Regions from separate parts of the Homo sapiens genome. Here regions 2, 3, 4 and 5 are each linked to region 1. Evidence: promoter capture Hi-C in 16 types of primary human blood cells and fetal thymus (Javierre and others, 2016). All regions are on one chromosome and are shown on one strand. The core of a region is centred on a gene start or on the middle of the fragment in contact, and the rest is flanking DNA. Distances in the headings are between cores, read along the strand shown.

Region 1 (2,937 bases), core at 438-2,937:
TTTTCACCTTGAAGTTGATTTATAATGAGTTCTAGTGTCACACAACCTGAACTGTGCAGTGTAATCAGACTTTCCCCAAGAATACAAAGATTGCGAACTTCCATGCCACCTTTTCTGAGACGATTTTGGCATTCTGCCACCAGGTTCAGCAACAGGCTACTTTGAGGATCCACATGCAACAGAATCAGAGCTTGCAAAGCAGTCACTAAACTAGTGTTTGACAGCTGTGAGGGCTCCTTTTCAAACTGAAAGCATAAAGCTTGAAAGATGCTATTCTCCAGTATTTCTTTTGGCAGCCCTTGATCACCATCCTTTTTTTCCACTTCACAAATTCGTTGTAAAGCTCCTGCTGCCATAGTGTCAGGCAGGGTTTCCATCGTGCTTATAAAACTTAGCACTTCTTCTGATGAAGTCAAGTTGCTCAGTCTCCTGTAAAACATCTGACTCTCCTCATTTTTAACATTTTGTTCAAGCCTGTCGCAGTCAGATACTTGAGAGAACACTGGTCCACCGAGTGGATGAAGGTCATTTCCATTTTTCGAATGAAACTTTTTACAATGGGCATGATGGAATTTGACCCCGAAAGGCTCAGGTTGTCGTGAACACAACCAAGGGCACAGACGCTCCTTGACTACCTTGTGAACATGATTTAGAGGTTTATTTTTTAAAGCAGCCAGAGCTCTATGCATCTGAAAATCAGATAAACGATAAAGGTTCTTCCTCAAGGTGATTAATGCCATACCATCAGATTCTCAATTTGATAACTAAATTAAAAAATTTAAAAACACATGGTTAAATACATTGAGAACATGATTGACCCAACATCAATGTTTATGAAACTACAAACGAGTATCTGGAAAAAAAAAAAAAAAAAAAAAAAGGATGGTTAACATATAAACACCAGAGGGGCAAAGTCTCTGCATCCTAGAGTTAGAAGAGTGGCTGACATTGAACAATAACAATCGCTATTACTTGCTAAACACTGTTGTAGGTATTCTATTAACTTACACAGATTCAGTACTTTTACTATCATTTTACACGAGGAAGAAGTTGAAGCACAAAGTTACTTTGCCCAGTTTATGCAGGTGGTTAAGTGGCAGAGCTAGGGTTCAAACTCAGGCAATGTAGCTCTTAAGGGTGGCCCTTAAATGTTGGTTGAAGGAAGAAATTGCATTTGGATAGAAATCAAAGAACAGGTAAAGTGGGCAAAATTAGGCGAGGTTAGAGCAAGGCAAGGGTAAAAACGCGCTGGAAAGGCCCTAAGCTGTTGGTTTCCCCTCGGTGTCGGGAGAAGGTTAGTGTTGAAGGAAAGGGTCTACTTTGTCAATGGAAACAAGGTAGGAAAAGAAAAAGCAAAACATAGATCAATGAAGGGAGAAGGTGGGGCGGCCAGTCCAGATCTAAAGACGGTGCGGGGGGATTTGGCAACACGTGTGTGCAAGACAGACAGACGGGAGGCCCCGCGGCGCGTTTTCCTAGGAATGAAAGGGACCCGCGGGGCGAGCACCCCCAAACTCGGCGCCCCGGGGACCTGCGCTGAGACACGGGCCGGGCGGCGCAGCCTGAGGAGAAAGCCGGCCAGGTCTTTGACACCCAGCCGGACCAACTGCGCGGAGACCCCGCGTTGACACCTACCGCGCTCTGCCGGGCAATCACTCCGGGTGGTCGCGGAAGCGCCTGGGCGTCGTGGGCCTCCGTAGCAAACGCGGGGCGGGAGCACGACTCAGGGCGGCGCAATGTGATTGGCCCAGGTCCCCTTCGGAGCTTTCTATTGGTCCTGGGTACCGAGCATGGGCGCTGCGTCAGTGCGCGCTGGCGCAAGGTTGGTGGAAGTCGCGTTGTGCAGGTTCGTGCCCGGCTGGCGCGGCGTGGGTAAGCTGCCTGTCGGCTACGGTTCCCGGATTCCGGCCGCTCGCCCTGCACTAATCTCCTGGGAGAGGCGGCCCGGGGCGGGGGTGGGCAGCCGGCTTGCGCCCGTGGTTCCCACGCCCTTCGGCCTCCGGGGGTCGCCGCGGGCGCGGGCTGGGGCTCGGACTTGGCCTTTGGCCTTTGGCTTTGGTGTCCCCGGGAGCGTGTCCTTGGGCTCGGCGTCGGCCTCTGCCGCGGGAGGCCCCTGGGCGGCGTGGGGTCTCTCCTCATGTTCTGCCTTTGGTTCTAGGCGCTTTCCAGGCCTAGGGAAACCGCACTCGGGGACGCGGGGAACTGGGGAACATGCCGGGTTGGGGCGGCGCGCTCCGGGGAACCCGGGACGTTCCGAGCGCCCACCCGGCGGGACGCGGCCGTGAGTTCTGCCCGCGGCCGTGAGCTCTGCCCACCGCCTCCGCGCCGCTTCCGGGGCTGCTGGGGCCCGGGCCTCCGCTGAGAGTCGTGGGAAGGTGGTGCCGGATTGTGGGGCAGTAGCAGGGATGAGGGGTTGATTGATCCTGGGAAGCCCTCAGGATGTGTGTTTCATGGGAAGTGATAGAAATTTTAGCTGTAGTAAGGTTTTCATTATCGTTTCCACCGTTTTCTGTGAGCTGTCAATGTGTAGTGTTTTCATATTGTTTATTCACTCATTCAGATAACTTATCGAGTACCAGTTTCATGCCAGGTGCCGTTCTGGGCGGTTCATTCACCGAAAGCCAAGCTTTTGGTTTGGGTTTCAGTTTAAATCTGTCTCTGCAAATTGACAGCCCACCAATTTTAGCCGTTAGATGAGTATGGAAAAAAATCTGTGAGTGTCGTTTGTTTTACTACTGCTTATCTCTTGCGGAAAAACGTGTTAGTAAAATGTTTAAGTGGATTGGAAATATTTTTTCGTTATATGCACCCGTTTGTATATATGCCCATACACTCACATATTTTTGATTTGCATTAAATAATGAAGGAGAGTATGTGCTTCAGTTACCTTTAGTACTATGATTAGTTTGTTTAGCGTTAGGATCAAATAAGAACCAA
Region 2 (2,801 bases), core at 249-2,748, 2.4 Mb before region 1:
ATTGTACTATAATTTTGTAAGTTGTCATCATTGGAGGAGACTCAGTAAAAAATATGTGGGATCTCTCTGCATTTCTTACAATTGTATCTGAATCTACTATTATCTCAAAAAGGAGATTAATTTTAAAATGAAGGGAAAATAAATACATTTTCAAGAGATAAAAGCTAAGAGAATTTCTCTCCATCAGACCTTCTCTTTAAGAAATACCACAATTGGCTGTGTGCAGTGGCTCATGCCTGTAAATCTCAGCACTTTGGGAGGCTGAAGCAGGTAGATCACTTGAGGTCAGGAGTTCAAGATCAGCCTGGCTAACATGGTGAAACCGTGTCTCCACAAAAAAATACAAAAATTAGCTGGGCCTGGTGGTGTGTAGCTGTAGTCCCAGCTACTCGGGAGGCTGCAGCATGAGAATCACTTGAACCCAGGAGGCAGAGGTTGCAGTGAGTCACAATCATGCCACTGCATTCCAGCCTGAGCGACAGAGGGAGACCCTGTCTCAAAAGGAAAAAAAAAAAAAAAAAAGAAATACTACGATAATTGTCTCAGGCTGAAGAAAAATTATAACAGATTTAACCCTGAACCTGTAAGAAGCAATGAAAAGCACCAAAAAAGGGTACATATTTGTATAATTATAAAAAACCTTATAAATTTGTGTATGAGGGAGAAAAAGAGAGTATGTTTATTCTTTAAACTGTGCATATATATCCATGAATGGTAAATTTCATAATTTAAAAAAAGGAAAGAGAGAAAAATATCAAGGGAGGCAATACCATCTGGAGAATGTCTGTCACATGTGCTGTGCTACACACAGGGGGGATGAAAATAAACTTCTATTTTGACAGCAAGGAAACCGACAGTGATAAATAAATGTGGTTAGTAAGTCAAAGTAGTCCCAAGTAGAGGAAGTGGAAAAGCAAGAGGAGGCGGTGAATTACATGAGTTTCTCTAACCCTCTCAGGTGTACTAAAGCCAGTTTTCAAATCCCGTGTTAACAGCCAAATGGAAGCAAGTCTATATTGCTACTCTATTACAGTTGCTCCTGAACAATATGGGTTTGAACCCTGCAGACTTTCTTTTGCTTCTGCCACCCCTAAGACAATCAGAACAATTTATCTTCTCCCTCCTCCTCCTCAGCATACTCAAGAAAATACAACCAGGATGAAGACCTTTGGGAAGATCTGCTTCCACTTAATGAAAAGTAAATACATTTTCTCTTCCTTATGATTTTCTTAATAACATTTTCTGTTTTCTAGATTACTTTATTGTAACAATACAGTATATAATACACACAATATAGAAAACCCGTATTAATTAACTCTGTTATTGGTAAGGCTTTCAGTCAACAGGCTATTAGTAGCTAAATTTGGGGGGAGTCAAAAAATTTTGGACTGTGTAGAGGGTTGGTGCCCTTAACCCCACATTGTTCAATGTTCAAGAGTCAACTGTAATCAATATTTTGTAATTATATTTTAAAATGTGCCTTATGTGAGATCCACTATAAAAAGAACTTGATCACTAATATACTGCATACAAAGTCAATTTGAGATGAATTATGGACCCAAATGTAAAAGCTAAAACAATCATAAAACTTCTAGAAGAAAACACAGAAGATTACGTCTGTGATCTTGGGGCAAGCAAAGATTTTTTAGGAGACAAAAAACATGCTGATAAAATTAAAAAACGATTAATTATACTTCATCAAGATAAAACAATCCGGCCAGGCACAGCGGCTCATGCCTGTAATCTTAGCACTTTGGGAGGCCGGGGTGGGTGGATTGCTTGAGCTCAACAAATACGAAAATTAGCCAGGCATGTGGATCGCTCCTGTACTCTCAGCTGCTTGGGGGATTGAGCTGGGAGGATCTCTTGAGCCCAGAAAGCAGAGGTTGCAGTAAGCCAAGATCATACCACTGCACTCCAGCATGGGTGACAGAATGAGACCCTGTCTCAAAAAAAATAAAATCTTCATCACAAAACATTATCAACAAAATAAACAGTTAAGTCACAGACTGTGAGAATGTATTCATAAGAAAGAGGATTTGTATCCAAATTACATGAAGAACTTCTAAAACTCAATGATAATAAGACAAAGAACACAATTTAAAGGAGAAAAAAAGCAAAGAGGCTGTTCACAAAAGAAGACATAAAAATGGCAAATAAGCACATGAAAACCTGCTCAACTTCATCAACCATCAAGAAAATACAAACTAGACACCCCAGGAGCTCCTACCGCATGCTGCCCTAGAAGACCTGCAATGCCCAAGGCTGACTGCAGCAGGTGCTGGGAGGAATGCGGAGCCCTGGGATGCTTATCTGCTGCTGGCAGGGGTGGAAAATGGTACAGCCACTTTGGCAAACTGTCTGTCTTCTCCTAAAATAATATACTTCCATCCTATGACCCAGTGATGTCATTCCCAGGTATTTGTCAAAAATAAATGCAATATATTCATAAAAGTTCCTTTACAAAAAAGACTTTTATAATAGTCAAACCTGGATTGTTTAATCAACACGTGGGTAAATTATGCTTTGCTCATGCACTTGGATAGCAGTCAGCACACAATATGCATGAGTCTCAAGAGTAACAGGCTAAGAGGAGTACAGCAAACACAGAAGTGTACATCCCAGGTGATTTAATCCATACAAACTTGAAGAAATAAGCACAAGAGACTGAGGGTGACAGAAATCTGATCAGTGCAGGTTTTGCAGTGGAGGACTCACGGGAAGGAGAATTAGGTGCCTTTCTGGGACGGGGAAGATGCTCTGTGTCTTGACAGGCACCGTAAGGTATACTTGAGATCTGA
Region 3 (2,848 bases), core at 94-2,593, 2.4 Mb before region 1:
GCAAAACATTCCAGCATTAATATTGGAATGTGTGTGTGGATTTTGTGGTGGTATTTGATTACTTAAATAAAAGTCGTTTGCCTTGTTGGGCACTGCTTTCCTAAGGAAGAAGAAAGTCTCTTCTCTTCCTGCGGCTAACATTCTGCCTCTAAAACTCTGTACTGTGTGATCCCTGACAAGTGACTTAACCTGGGCTCTCTGCGAGGCCTCCTGGGTGGAGCTGTGTCTTGACGGAATGAAATCCGTGATGTACAGTGAGATGCCAGGTATCACAGAGTACTTAGCATCAAGGGGGGAGAGCTTGGAAACCTGGAGACCTTGTGAGCAAGGCTTCGTAGTGGGGATTTCTATTATCATTTACGTATTGCATAGCATGTAATTTTATCTCTTGTGGGAGAAGCTTAACTCAAAGTAACTCTTATAAGGGATGAATCTAGTTTTTATTTTGAATATTGTATAATCAAGGAATAATACAGTTAAGCAACATGCCATCAGAAATGCACAGAGTTACATTTTAAATACTGTATAACACCCAAGATGATCTTAACATGGTAGGTTGTCTTCAGCTTTCAGTGGGAGACTGTATATTTAGCTTAATGAGAACAGTGTTTCTCATTTAAGCTGCTTTATCTGAAATACCTTCTTTAACTTTAGGATAGCTGCTGAAGTGGTACACATTTCTTCCATATTACAGTGTACTTTTTTACAATTGAGGTTGTATATTGACATAAAAGAAAGTAGCCAGAATAATGGCTAATGAGTTGTTTTGCCAGCAGATGCAGTTTACTCTGATACTACAGTGGGTGTAACCTAGAAGCTGTGGTAATCCTCGTCCCCATGAGGGAGAAGGAGGAGCTGATGTTGGGGCCTGCTATAGATTAGACCTTGTGCATGGCACTGCCCCACAGCCTAACGGGATCCCCAAGACAGCCATCTGAGTGGATGGCATTGTCCTTCTTGTATACAGGAGGAAACCAAAGCTCAGAGAGAAGAGTGATTTGCTGAAGGTGAGGCTAGGAAGTGCCATCCCTGCTGTTTGCCCAGGTCTGTCCCTCTCCAGAGCTAGCTCTTTAAATAGTGCCACATGCTGTTATTTATTAAAATTATTTTTAACCTCTTGTGTTTCTCTTACTGTTACACTTTTTTATTTGTTTGAGTCATGGCCTTACTGTGTGCCCCGTGCTCTGTGCTTTCTCATTGCTTGTGGTTTATGGGGGGGAGTAATATTAAGAGCTGCAGTTGTGCCTGCTTGTCAGCATTCATGTTTGAATGTGTGGGCTTTTGTATTATTTGAAATAGTGCTAGTTTACCTTGTTGGAGAAAACTGAGGTACACATTGAGTATATTTTATTTGAAATGCTTGGGACCAGAAGTGTTTTAGACTTCAGATTTTCTTGGATTTTGGAGTGTTTCCTTTATATTTATGAGTTGAGAGCATCCCTAATCAGAAAATCAGAATGCTCCAGTGAGTATTTCCTTTGTGGGTCATGTTGATGCTCCAGAAGTTTCAGCTTCGGAGCATTTTGGATTTCAGATTTTTGGAGTAGGAATACAGTGCAACCTCCAACTTTAACTCCTAAATTGTTTAACCTAAATTATCTAAGTAAATGAAATTTTCATAACTCTGAAATAAACTTACCTTAAAAGAGAACTGTGATAATACACTGTAATGTATAACTTAGCTGTAATCCAGAATCATACACTGTAGTTTTTGAAAGTATGGTACGCTACAAAAAGTTTTTCATTATATCTCTTATTATGTTTTCTCATTTCCAAAGTCCATTTATAAATGCTTCCCGTGGATATCTCATAGAGTCATATGTTTAATGAAGGTTTTAGGATCACGTTTTATTAAAACTTAAATATGGGAGTGTGATCCTTCCAGAACTGTTTTGGGAAGCTCAGTCGTGGCCGTGGGTGACTGGGATCTTGGAGGCCCTCTCCTTTTTAAAAACACACAAACAGTCCTCAGAACACTGCTGGGGCCAGGAAACTACAGACAGCTACTGTCTGGCTTTTCTTCTTTTTTATTTGTGGACAGGTCTTAAATGAATTTTTTTACTGTGGGTTTTTTTATATTTAATTTTCATTGCTGGCAGAAAGCATTCTGTATTTGAATAGTATTCCAGTAGGTTACATCACTAAAATTTTGAATAACAGATATTTTCTTGTTTTATGACTGATCTGAAATTTCTTTTCAGATATACCATGGGGTATACAGTTAGCAGCCGTGTATGCTCTTTGTGACTTGAGTCCCAGCAATCCAGCAGAAATTTCCAAGATCCTGGAAGCTTGGCGGAGAGAGGCCTCCAAAAGCGTTCCGTCTGCGATTGTCAGCTGCCTAGAGGAAGTCAGTGCCCTGAGCACAGAGGAGCTTGGCTGACCTGGGATGCCACTGAGGCTTGAGAAGTGCCTTGACACATTTTGAACACAAATAGTTTGATCAGCTTTCAGAATACAAAGGGAGGTTTCAAAACAAAAAGACATAAAATAGATAAAACAGACCAGAGGCTCTCCTTATTGTTTGGCAAGGAGACAGGAGAAACAAGCAGTCGCATAGTCGTTTTTCCCTAAATCTAATACGTTTCACTTAAGGCTGTTGTGATCTGTGACATATGGGTTATATTATTGTGTCTTTGTCAAACAACAAAAACTTGAACTTAGCCCTTTTTTTGCTGCAGAAAGTGTCCTTTTAGTGGCTTCTTAAAATTGAGTGGCATTTTATAATGAACTTACCAATATAAAAACATGATTTGGTTCCTGAGCTGTTGTTGTTGGACTTGTGTTCCAATGAGTGACTAGGAAAAAATAAATTGGCAAAAACCTAGAGTTTTCTGCTATCTTTGCT
Region 4 (3,003 bases), core at 402-2,901, 2.4 Mb after region 1:
TAGATCTGCCAGCTAGTCCTGTGGATTTTATCTTCACAATGCACACAGAATTTGATGCTTCTCACCAGCTACTCCGTGGCCTGGACACCTGCAAGAGCTTATAACCTGTCTCCCAGCTTGTACCCACCCCTGCCTCCACATGGCAGCCTGTGACCCTTCTCAAGCCCAGCCAGCCCTGCATTCCTCTCTGCTCACCCAAGGCTCCTGCCCTTCCAAGGGCTGGTGTCCTTCCCATCCTGCTTCCTCTCTGACCTCCCCACGCACACTCATGCCACACCTGCCTGCTTGCTGCACTGCCCCCCACCCTGCCCGAGGCGCTCTTCCCTGCACGCCCCCTCCCTAACCTCAGAGGTCACCTTTGCAGGGATCCTGTCCCTGCCCCACCCCGCCCTTGCTTTGCTTTGCTCCACAGCACTTTTGCTTCTGCTGTATGATGCATCTTCTACAGGCATCTCATGTAATATCTGCTCTCCCCACTAGCATATGAGCACCTGGGGCAGGTGTGTTTTCTCTTGTACTCACTGAAGTATTCCAAGCGATTAGAACAGGGCTTGCTATAGTGGCCACACTTGTCAAATGAATGAAGGAAAGAAGGAAGAAAAAGTGATTCAGCTACGAGTTATTTTTCTTCACTAGAACATAATGATAATATTTTTGTTCATCAGTTCATAAAAGCCAAGCATGGTGGCTCACACCTGTAATCCCAACACTTTGGGAGTCTGCAGCCGGAGGACTGCTTGAGCCCAGGAGTTTGAGACCAGCCTGGGCAACATAGTGAGACTCTGTCCCTGCGAAAACTAAAACCATCAGCCGGACATGGTGGCACACGCCTGTATTCCCAGCGACTTGGCAGGCTGAGACAGGTGATCGCTTGAACCCAGGAGGCTGGGGCTGCAGTGAGCCAAGATCACGCTCTACTGCACTGCAGTCTGGGCAACAGAGTGAGACTCTGTCTCAAAAAAAAGAAAAAAAAAATTCATAACAGAATTTGTAACTAAAATTGGTCATTCTTTGAAGTTATGAAAGTAGATAGCTTTCTGGGAAAAGTATAAATAATGGGTATATTTAGACCACATTCATTCATTCAACAACCGTTTACTGAGTGATGCCTGTGCCAGTGCTGCGGTGCTGGAGGCCTGGGCCAGCTAGAAGAAGAAAGGCCTGGTCCCTGCCCCTGAGCTGATGGTGCAGTGCACACAGCTAGCAGTGTCGAAGCCTTCAGACAAAGAAATGCACAATAACCCATCTAAGGACAGGGCAACAAGGTACTATATGAGAGTAAAGCGGGCCGCTGGAGCTCGCCTCATTGTCATCAAGGACTGCCTTGCAGAGGAAAAGACAGCTGGCCCATGAGTGGTCAGTGCTGTTCGACGAAGTCCAGAGCCAGGGAGACCACAGTCAGAAGGAAGGAAACACCCCAGGCTCTGGGAAGAGCAGCAATGGCGAGGTCCAGGGGGCCGAGAGAAGGACGGAGGGCTGGTGCAGAGAGCTGAGGGCAGCATGGCCCAGGGGAGGCTGGAGGGGAGCAGGGGCCCCTGCGCACCAGCCTCAGGGCCACAGTGAGTATTTGGGCCTTATCCCTAAAAACGGCAAGAAGTCACAGAAGGGTTTTACACAAGAGCAAGGCTGATCTGCTCTGCACTTTGAAAAGATGCTCTCAGTGCGTAAGCTCATGTTAAACATGGATGTTCACAACCCCACAACTGGCTTGACCAGATCCAGATGGGATTCCTGCTCCTTTTTAGATAGATACATACTTGTGTGGAAATGCTAGGGCACCTCTGATTTTGAGCTACAACCGCACAGAGCTGTTAGGGATCATCAGTCTGGTATCAGAAGCAGGGGTGAGGGTTTACAGCCCCAGAGATTCCTGGCTCTGGGCCTCCCCAAGGCTCCCCTGGCTCTCTGAGTATCTACCTGGGCATCAGCAGGGAACGTCACATGGCATGCTGGCTTTGTGGAGTCACCCAGCCACGGCTGGGATGGTCGACTGGCACAGCACACGCCCCCTCCCCTCATGGCCTCCACTGAGACACAGCTTGATGAAGGCTGAAAGTAGGGGCCTCCACACACAAAACTTAGCCTTCCAAACCAACAGAAGCCATCCCAGCCTCCGCACCCCTGACCGACCCACCAGCATGAAGACAGCAAGCTGGCCAAATCTCTATTACAGGGAACGTGGACACTTTGTATCCTTCAGCTGCTCCCCTTTCTCCTTGGGAATAGTGAAATGGTACATGTTCCTTATTTCAGATTTCTCTACATACAGAAGAATGGACAGTAATCACAAAAGTATTCATAAATAATAAGACTCTTATTTCCCCTGATTGAACAGCTCCATAAAGTGAGTCAGTCTACTTCAAACATGGTAAGAAGCACCCGGAGTCGGCTCCACAGGTCCTGGAGTGACGATGACTACCAAAGGCCACTGCTGCCCCCCGCTGGGACAAGTAATCCTGATTTCATCATCCTGCCTCTCCACAACGCATGGAATTTCCAGTAAATGCTAACATTCTATTTTTATAAAGCACAGATTCAAATTAAAGTTACTTGTCTCCAAAAAGCTAACAATTCCATTTTAGAACGAAAGCCCAAACATCACAGGTAATAAATCACCATCAAAATTGCGTATCAATCTATGATCCCAATCAGTTTTTTAAAAATGACCAGGGAGTGTGCCCTTCTACCTCATTTCACTTCTATAAGAAAAGGCTGAATACCAAAGTTTGGTCTTAATTTTAGGCCTAATGAGAATTATAAATGTACAGGATACTGTCACTTTCAAGAACATTTTACAAGACTGGGCACAGTGGCTCACACCTGTAATCCTAGCACTTTGGGAGGCCGAAGCAGGCAAATCACTGGAGGTCAGGAATTCAAGACCAGCCTGGCCAACATGGCAAAACCCCACCTCTACTAAAAATATAAAAATTAGCTGGGCGTGGTGGCAGGTGCCTGTAGTCCCAGCTACTCAGGAGGCTGATGCAGGAGAATTGCTTGAAC
Region 5 (2,700 bases), core at 69-2,568, 2.4 Mb after region 1:
ACAGAATCTCGCTCTGTCGCCCAGGATGGAGTGCAGTGGCGCGATTATAGCGCACTGTAAACTGAACTCCTGGGCTCCACCCATCCTCCTGCCTCAGCCCCAGAGTAGATGGGAACACAGTCGCCAAGTCTGTTCTTGAGTTTCAGGACAGGGTCAAATGTTATAGTGCATGTATTCATTTCAGCACTTATTGAGTGCCTAATAAAGTCTGGGAATAATACAACTTTATTAGTTAAGTCCCTGCCCATGGCAGTAGGGGAGAAGCAAGGATGGAAACCCTCAACAAATAAATCTAAACCTATCAAATATTAAGTCATGATCTTGGAGGGCGGGGAGGAAGGCAGCATAAGAGATTTAGAGGACAGCTGCGGTTGCCAAGATCTTTCTGAGGCAGCATAATACAGGGCTTAAGAGTGAGACCTGCCGGGCACCGCGGTGGCTCAGGCCCAACACTTGGGGAGACCTAGACGGGTACATCACTTGAGGTCAGCCGTTCGAGACCAGCCTGGCCACTACGGCGTTAACACCGTCTCTACTAAAAATACAAAAATTAGCGAGCGTGGTGGTTCTGTGCCTGTAGTCCCAGCTGCCTGGGAGGCTGAGGCACGAGAATCACTGGAACCCGGGAGGCGGAGGCTGCAGTGAGCCGAGACCGCGCCACTGCACTCCAGCCCGGGCTACAGTCTTGTCTCAAAAAAAAAAAAAAAAAAAAAGAGTGTGGGACCCATTGCATCAGGCTGTGTAACTGTTTCTTACTAGCTGTATACCAGTGGCAAGTTACTGAACCATTTGTGCAAAATGTTAATTTATTTACCAACACTGTGTTCAGCTTGCCAGGCACCGTTCTCCTTGAATCTCACAGCAGCCCTGTGAGTAGGCACTACTGTTACCACCGTCACTTTGCAGACAGGGAACCCGAGGGACAAAGAAGTTAAGGGATTTCCTCAAAGCCACAGCTAGGAAGAGCGGCAGAACTGCGATTCCAATCCATCAGTGTGCCTCCACTATCCCTATTCCTTAAGATCGTGCCAAAGGCTGAGTCACTTGCACTAAGTAGCCTAGAACAGTCTCTGGGGAAACGCGCCCGCCGACAAGGATCGCCAGAACCGGCGCGGGCACCGCGCGGCGACCAGGAGCTCTGGTCACCGAAGGCCAGGCTGGAGGCCAGAGCAGCCGCCCGCACCCGGTCACCGCCTCGACAGTGGAGACCTCAGCTGACCGCGAGCCCCCGGCCCGCCCGCACCCCTTCTCATGCCCCCAGGAACCCGCCAAGCCGCTCCAGCCTCACCTCCTCCTCCCTCCATCGCGAGATTTCCAACAGCGTTTTTAAAAAAAAAAAAAAAAAAAAAAAAAAAAAAAAAAAAACCGGAAATGGGTCCTACCATCTTCTCGGAGCCGGAGTGCGAAGAAATAAAGAAATAGTGCTTTAAGTCAATGAATTCCTCCTTGGGACCCACTATCGAGAAACTATCAGTGGTAACGTTTTAAAAAATGACAAATTCAATCTGCTCTTGACTTGTGTGTCCTAAGATTTCCACTAAGTGTCTTCAAACCTCCCCCTCCCCGGCTTCCTGGATAATAGAAGTTCCCGAAGGCCGCCGATTCCAGAAGATACTGTCTGGCGTGAAATTAGTCTCAGTAGAAACATAAGTCCCGCGCGTCTTGTGCTGCGCGTGCGCAAGCTTTTGGGCCCTCCCGAGAAAGGGAAGTGCATTCTCGCTTCCGTAGCGGTCTCCGCCGGTTGGGGGGAAGTAATTCCGGTTGTTGCACCATGGCGTCCATGGGGACCCTCGCCTTCGATGAATATGGGCGCCCTTTCCTCATCATCAAGGATCAGGACCGCAAGTCCCGTCTTATGGGACTTGAGGCCCTCAAGGTAATGGCACAGGGACCTGCTCGCGGTGGGCTAAGGGGAGGTGGCCGAGGCCGTGGCTCTGCGCCTGCGCGAGTTGAGGAGCGGCTCTGCCATGTGCTCCCCGGAAAGGTCGAGAATCTCCGTCTCCCTGCGGTCTCCGGCCGCTCAGCCCGCTTACTGAGCTCGGGAGACGCCGGCGCCTAATCCTGGGCTCGGAATGTGGGGGCCAGCCAGGCTGGGCCGCCAGCGCCCTTCGGAGCTGGGTGGGGCCGCTCAGTCCGGTCGCCCGCGGGAGCAAAGCGGGACCGCCTCCCCGCCCGGCTCCTCCAGCCTGACGGCCGCGTGGGACTGCGCTCCAGTGGGAGGGCGCCGGGGAGATGCTCTGTCACCTGTCGGTTAAGGCGCTGCTGCTTAACCTTTCGCTGGTCCACCCGCAACGGCCCTTCCGTTTTCTTTGTCACTCGTAAAGGTGTGGTCACTTAACAGGGTATTTCATTTCTGAGTGCTTTTTTGCCCACCCTTGAGGAAAAATAGCGAAGAGTGAAAAACGGACGCACATAACCGTAATACAAGGTGGTGTGCAGTGAGAAGGACAGCTACGGAGAGGGTGCACATAAGCGTGGTGCTGGAGGACAGCTTTAGATCGGGGTGAGAGGTAGCATTCTAGGGAGAGGAAACGGTAGAAGTAAAGGCTTGGGCAAGAATGCGCATGGCACGTTGTAGAATGGAAGAGCCATCCGGTTTTAATGGAGCACTGACTTCTTTAACTTACAATAGTTCCCGAAGGTGGAAGCTATTGAATGCCCAACATGGAAAATACGACGTTATCTTTGGGGAAGAAGGGG

Evidence for each region. The method cuts DNA at HindIII sites, captures the fragments that hold promoters and counts their contacts. A CHiCAGO score of 5 or more calls a contact.
Region 2: a fragment that was not itself captured here is called in contact with the fragment with the promoter of FASTKD3 in region 1 in 5 of 17 cell types (naive CD8 T cells, total CD4 T cells, naive B cells and 2 more); the score reaches 12.3 in naive CD8 T cells.
Region 3: a fragment that was not itself captured here is called in contact with the fragment with the promoter of FASTKD3 in region 1 in 9 of 17 cell types (total CD8 T cells, naive CD4 T cells, naive CD8 T cells and 6 more); the score reaches 20.7 in total CD8 T cells.
Region 4: a contact is called between a fragment that was not itself captured here and the fragment with the promoter of FASTKD3 in region 1, in 1 of 17 cell types (total B cells). The highest score is 5.9, in total B cells.
Region 5: a contact is called between the fragment with the promoter of ATPSCKMT here and the fragment with the promoter of FASTKD3 in region 1, in 16 of 17 cell types (total B cells, total CD4 T cells, naive CD4 T cells and 13 more). The highest score is 32.9, in total B cells.

What each region holds. Positions count from the first base shown.
Region 1 is chr5:7,867,344-7,870,280 of GRCh38, forward strand. It overlaps FASTKD3 (FAST kinase domains 3), which reads right to left and starts at 1,688. Exons shown (of 7, transcript NM_024091.4): 1 at 1,636-1,688; 2 at 1-853. The coding sequence starts at 740. It overlaps MTRR (5-methyltetrahydrofolate-homocysteine methyltransferase reductase), which reads left to right and starts at 1,805. Exons shown (of 15, transcript NM_002454.3): 1 at 1,805-1,872. RefSeq lists silencers at 1,698-2,137, 2,148-2,197, 2,258-2,307. The HindIII fragment of the contact is 2,367 bases long and covers 258-2,624 here.
Region 2 is chr5:5,505,160-5,507,960 of GRCh38, forward strand. No RefSeq gene overlaps it. Among named protein-coding and RNA genes, the nearest start is that of ICE1, 84 kb to the left of the region's middle. The HindIII fragment of the contact is 5,351 bases long and covers 1-2,801 here.
Region 3 is chr5:5,486,948-5,489,795 of GRCh38, forward strand. ICE1 (interactor of little elongation complex ELL subunit 1) reads left to right here. Exons shown (of 19, transcript NM_015325.3): 19 at 2,202-2,848. The coding sequence ends at 2,383. Among named protein-coding and RNA genes, the nearest start is that of ICE1, 66 kb to the left of the region's middle. The HindIII fragment of the contact is 1,891 bases long and covers 399-2,289 here.
Region 4 is chr5:10,231,248-10,234,250 of GRCh38, forward strand. The region is part of intron 4 of ATPSCKMT (ATP synthase c subunit lysine N-methyltransferase); the gene reads right to left. Among named protein-coding and RNA genes, the nearest start is that of ATPSCKMT, 17 kb to the right of the region's middle. The HindIII fragment of the contact is 3,492 bases long and covers 1-3,003 here.
Region 5 is chr5:10,248,570-10,251,269 of GRCh38, forward strand. ATPSCKMT (ATP synthase c subunit lysine N-methyltransferase) reads right to left here and starts at 1,319. Exons shown (of 5, transcript NM_199133.4): 1 at 1,289-1,319. The coding sequence starts at 1,304. It overlaps CCT5 (chaperonin containing TCP1 subunit 5), which reads left to right and starts at 1,711. Exons shown (of 11, transcript NM_012073.5): 1 at 1,711-1,876. The coding sequence starts at 1,772. RefSeq lists silencers at 1,089-1,208, 1,219-1,278, 2,029-2,098, 2,169-2,308, 2,639-2,700. The HindIII fragment of the contact is 6,282 bases long and covers 1-1,680 here.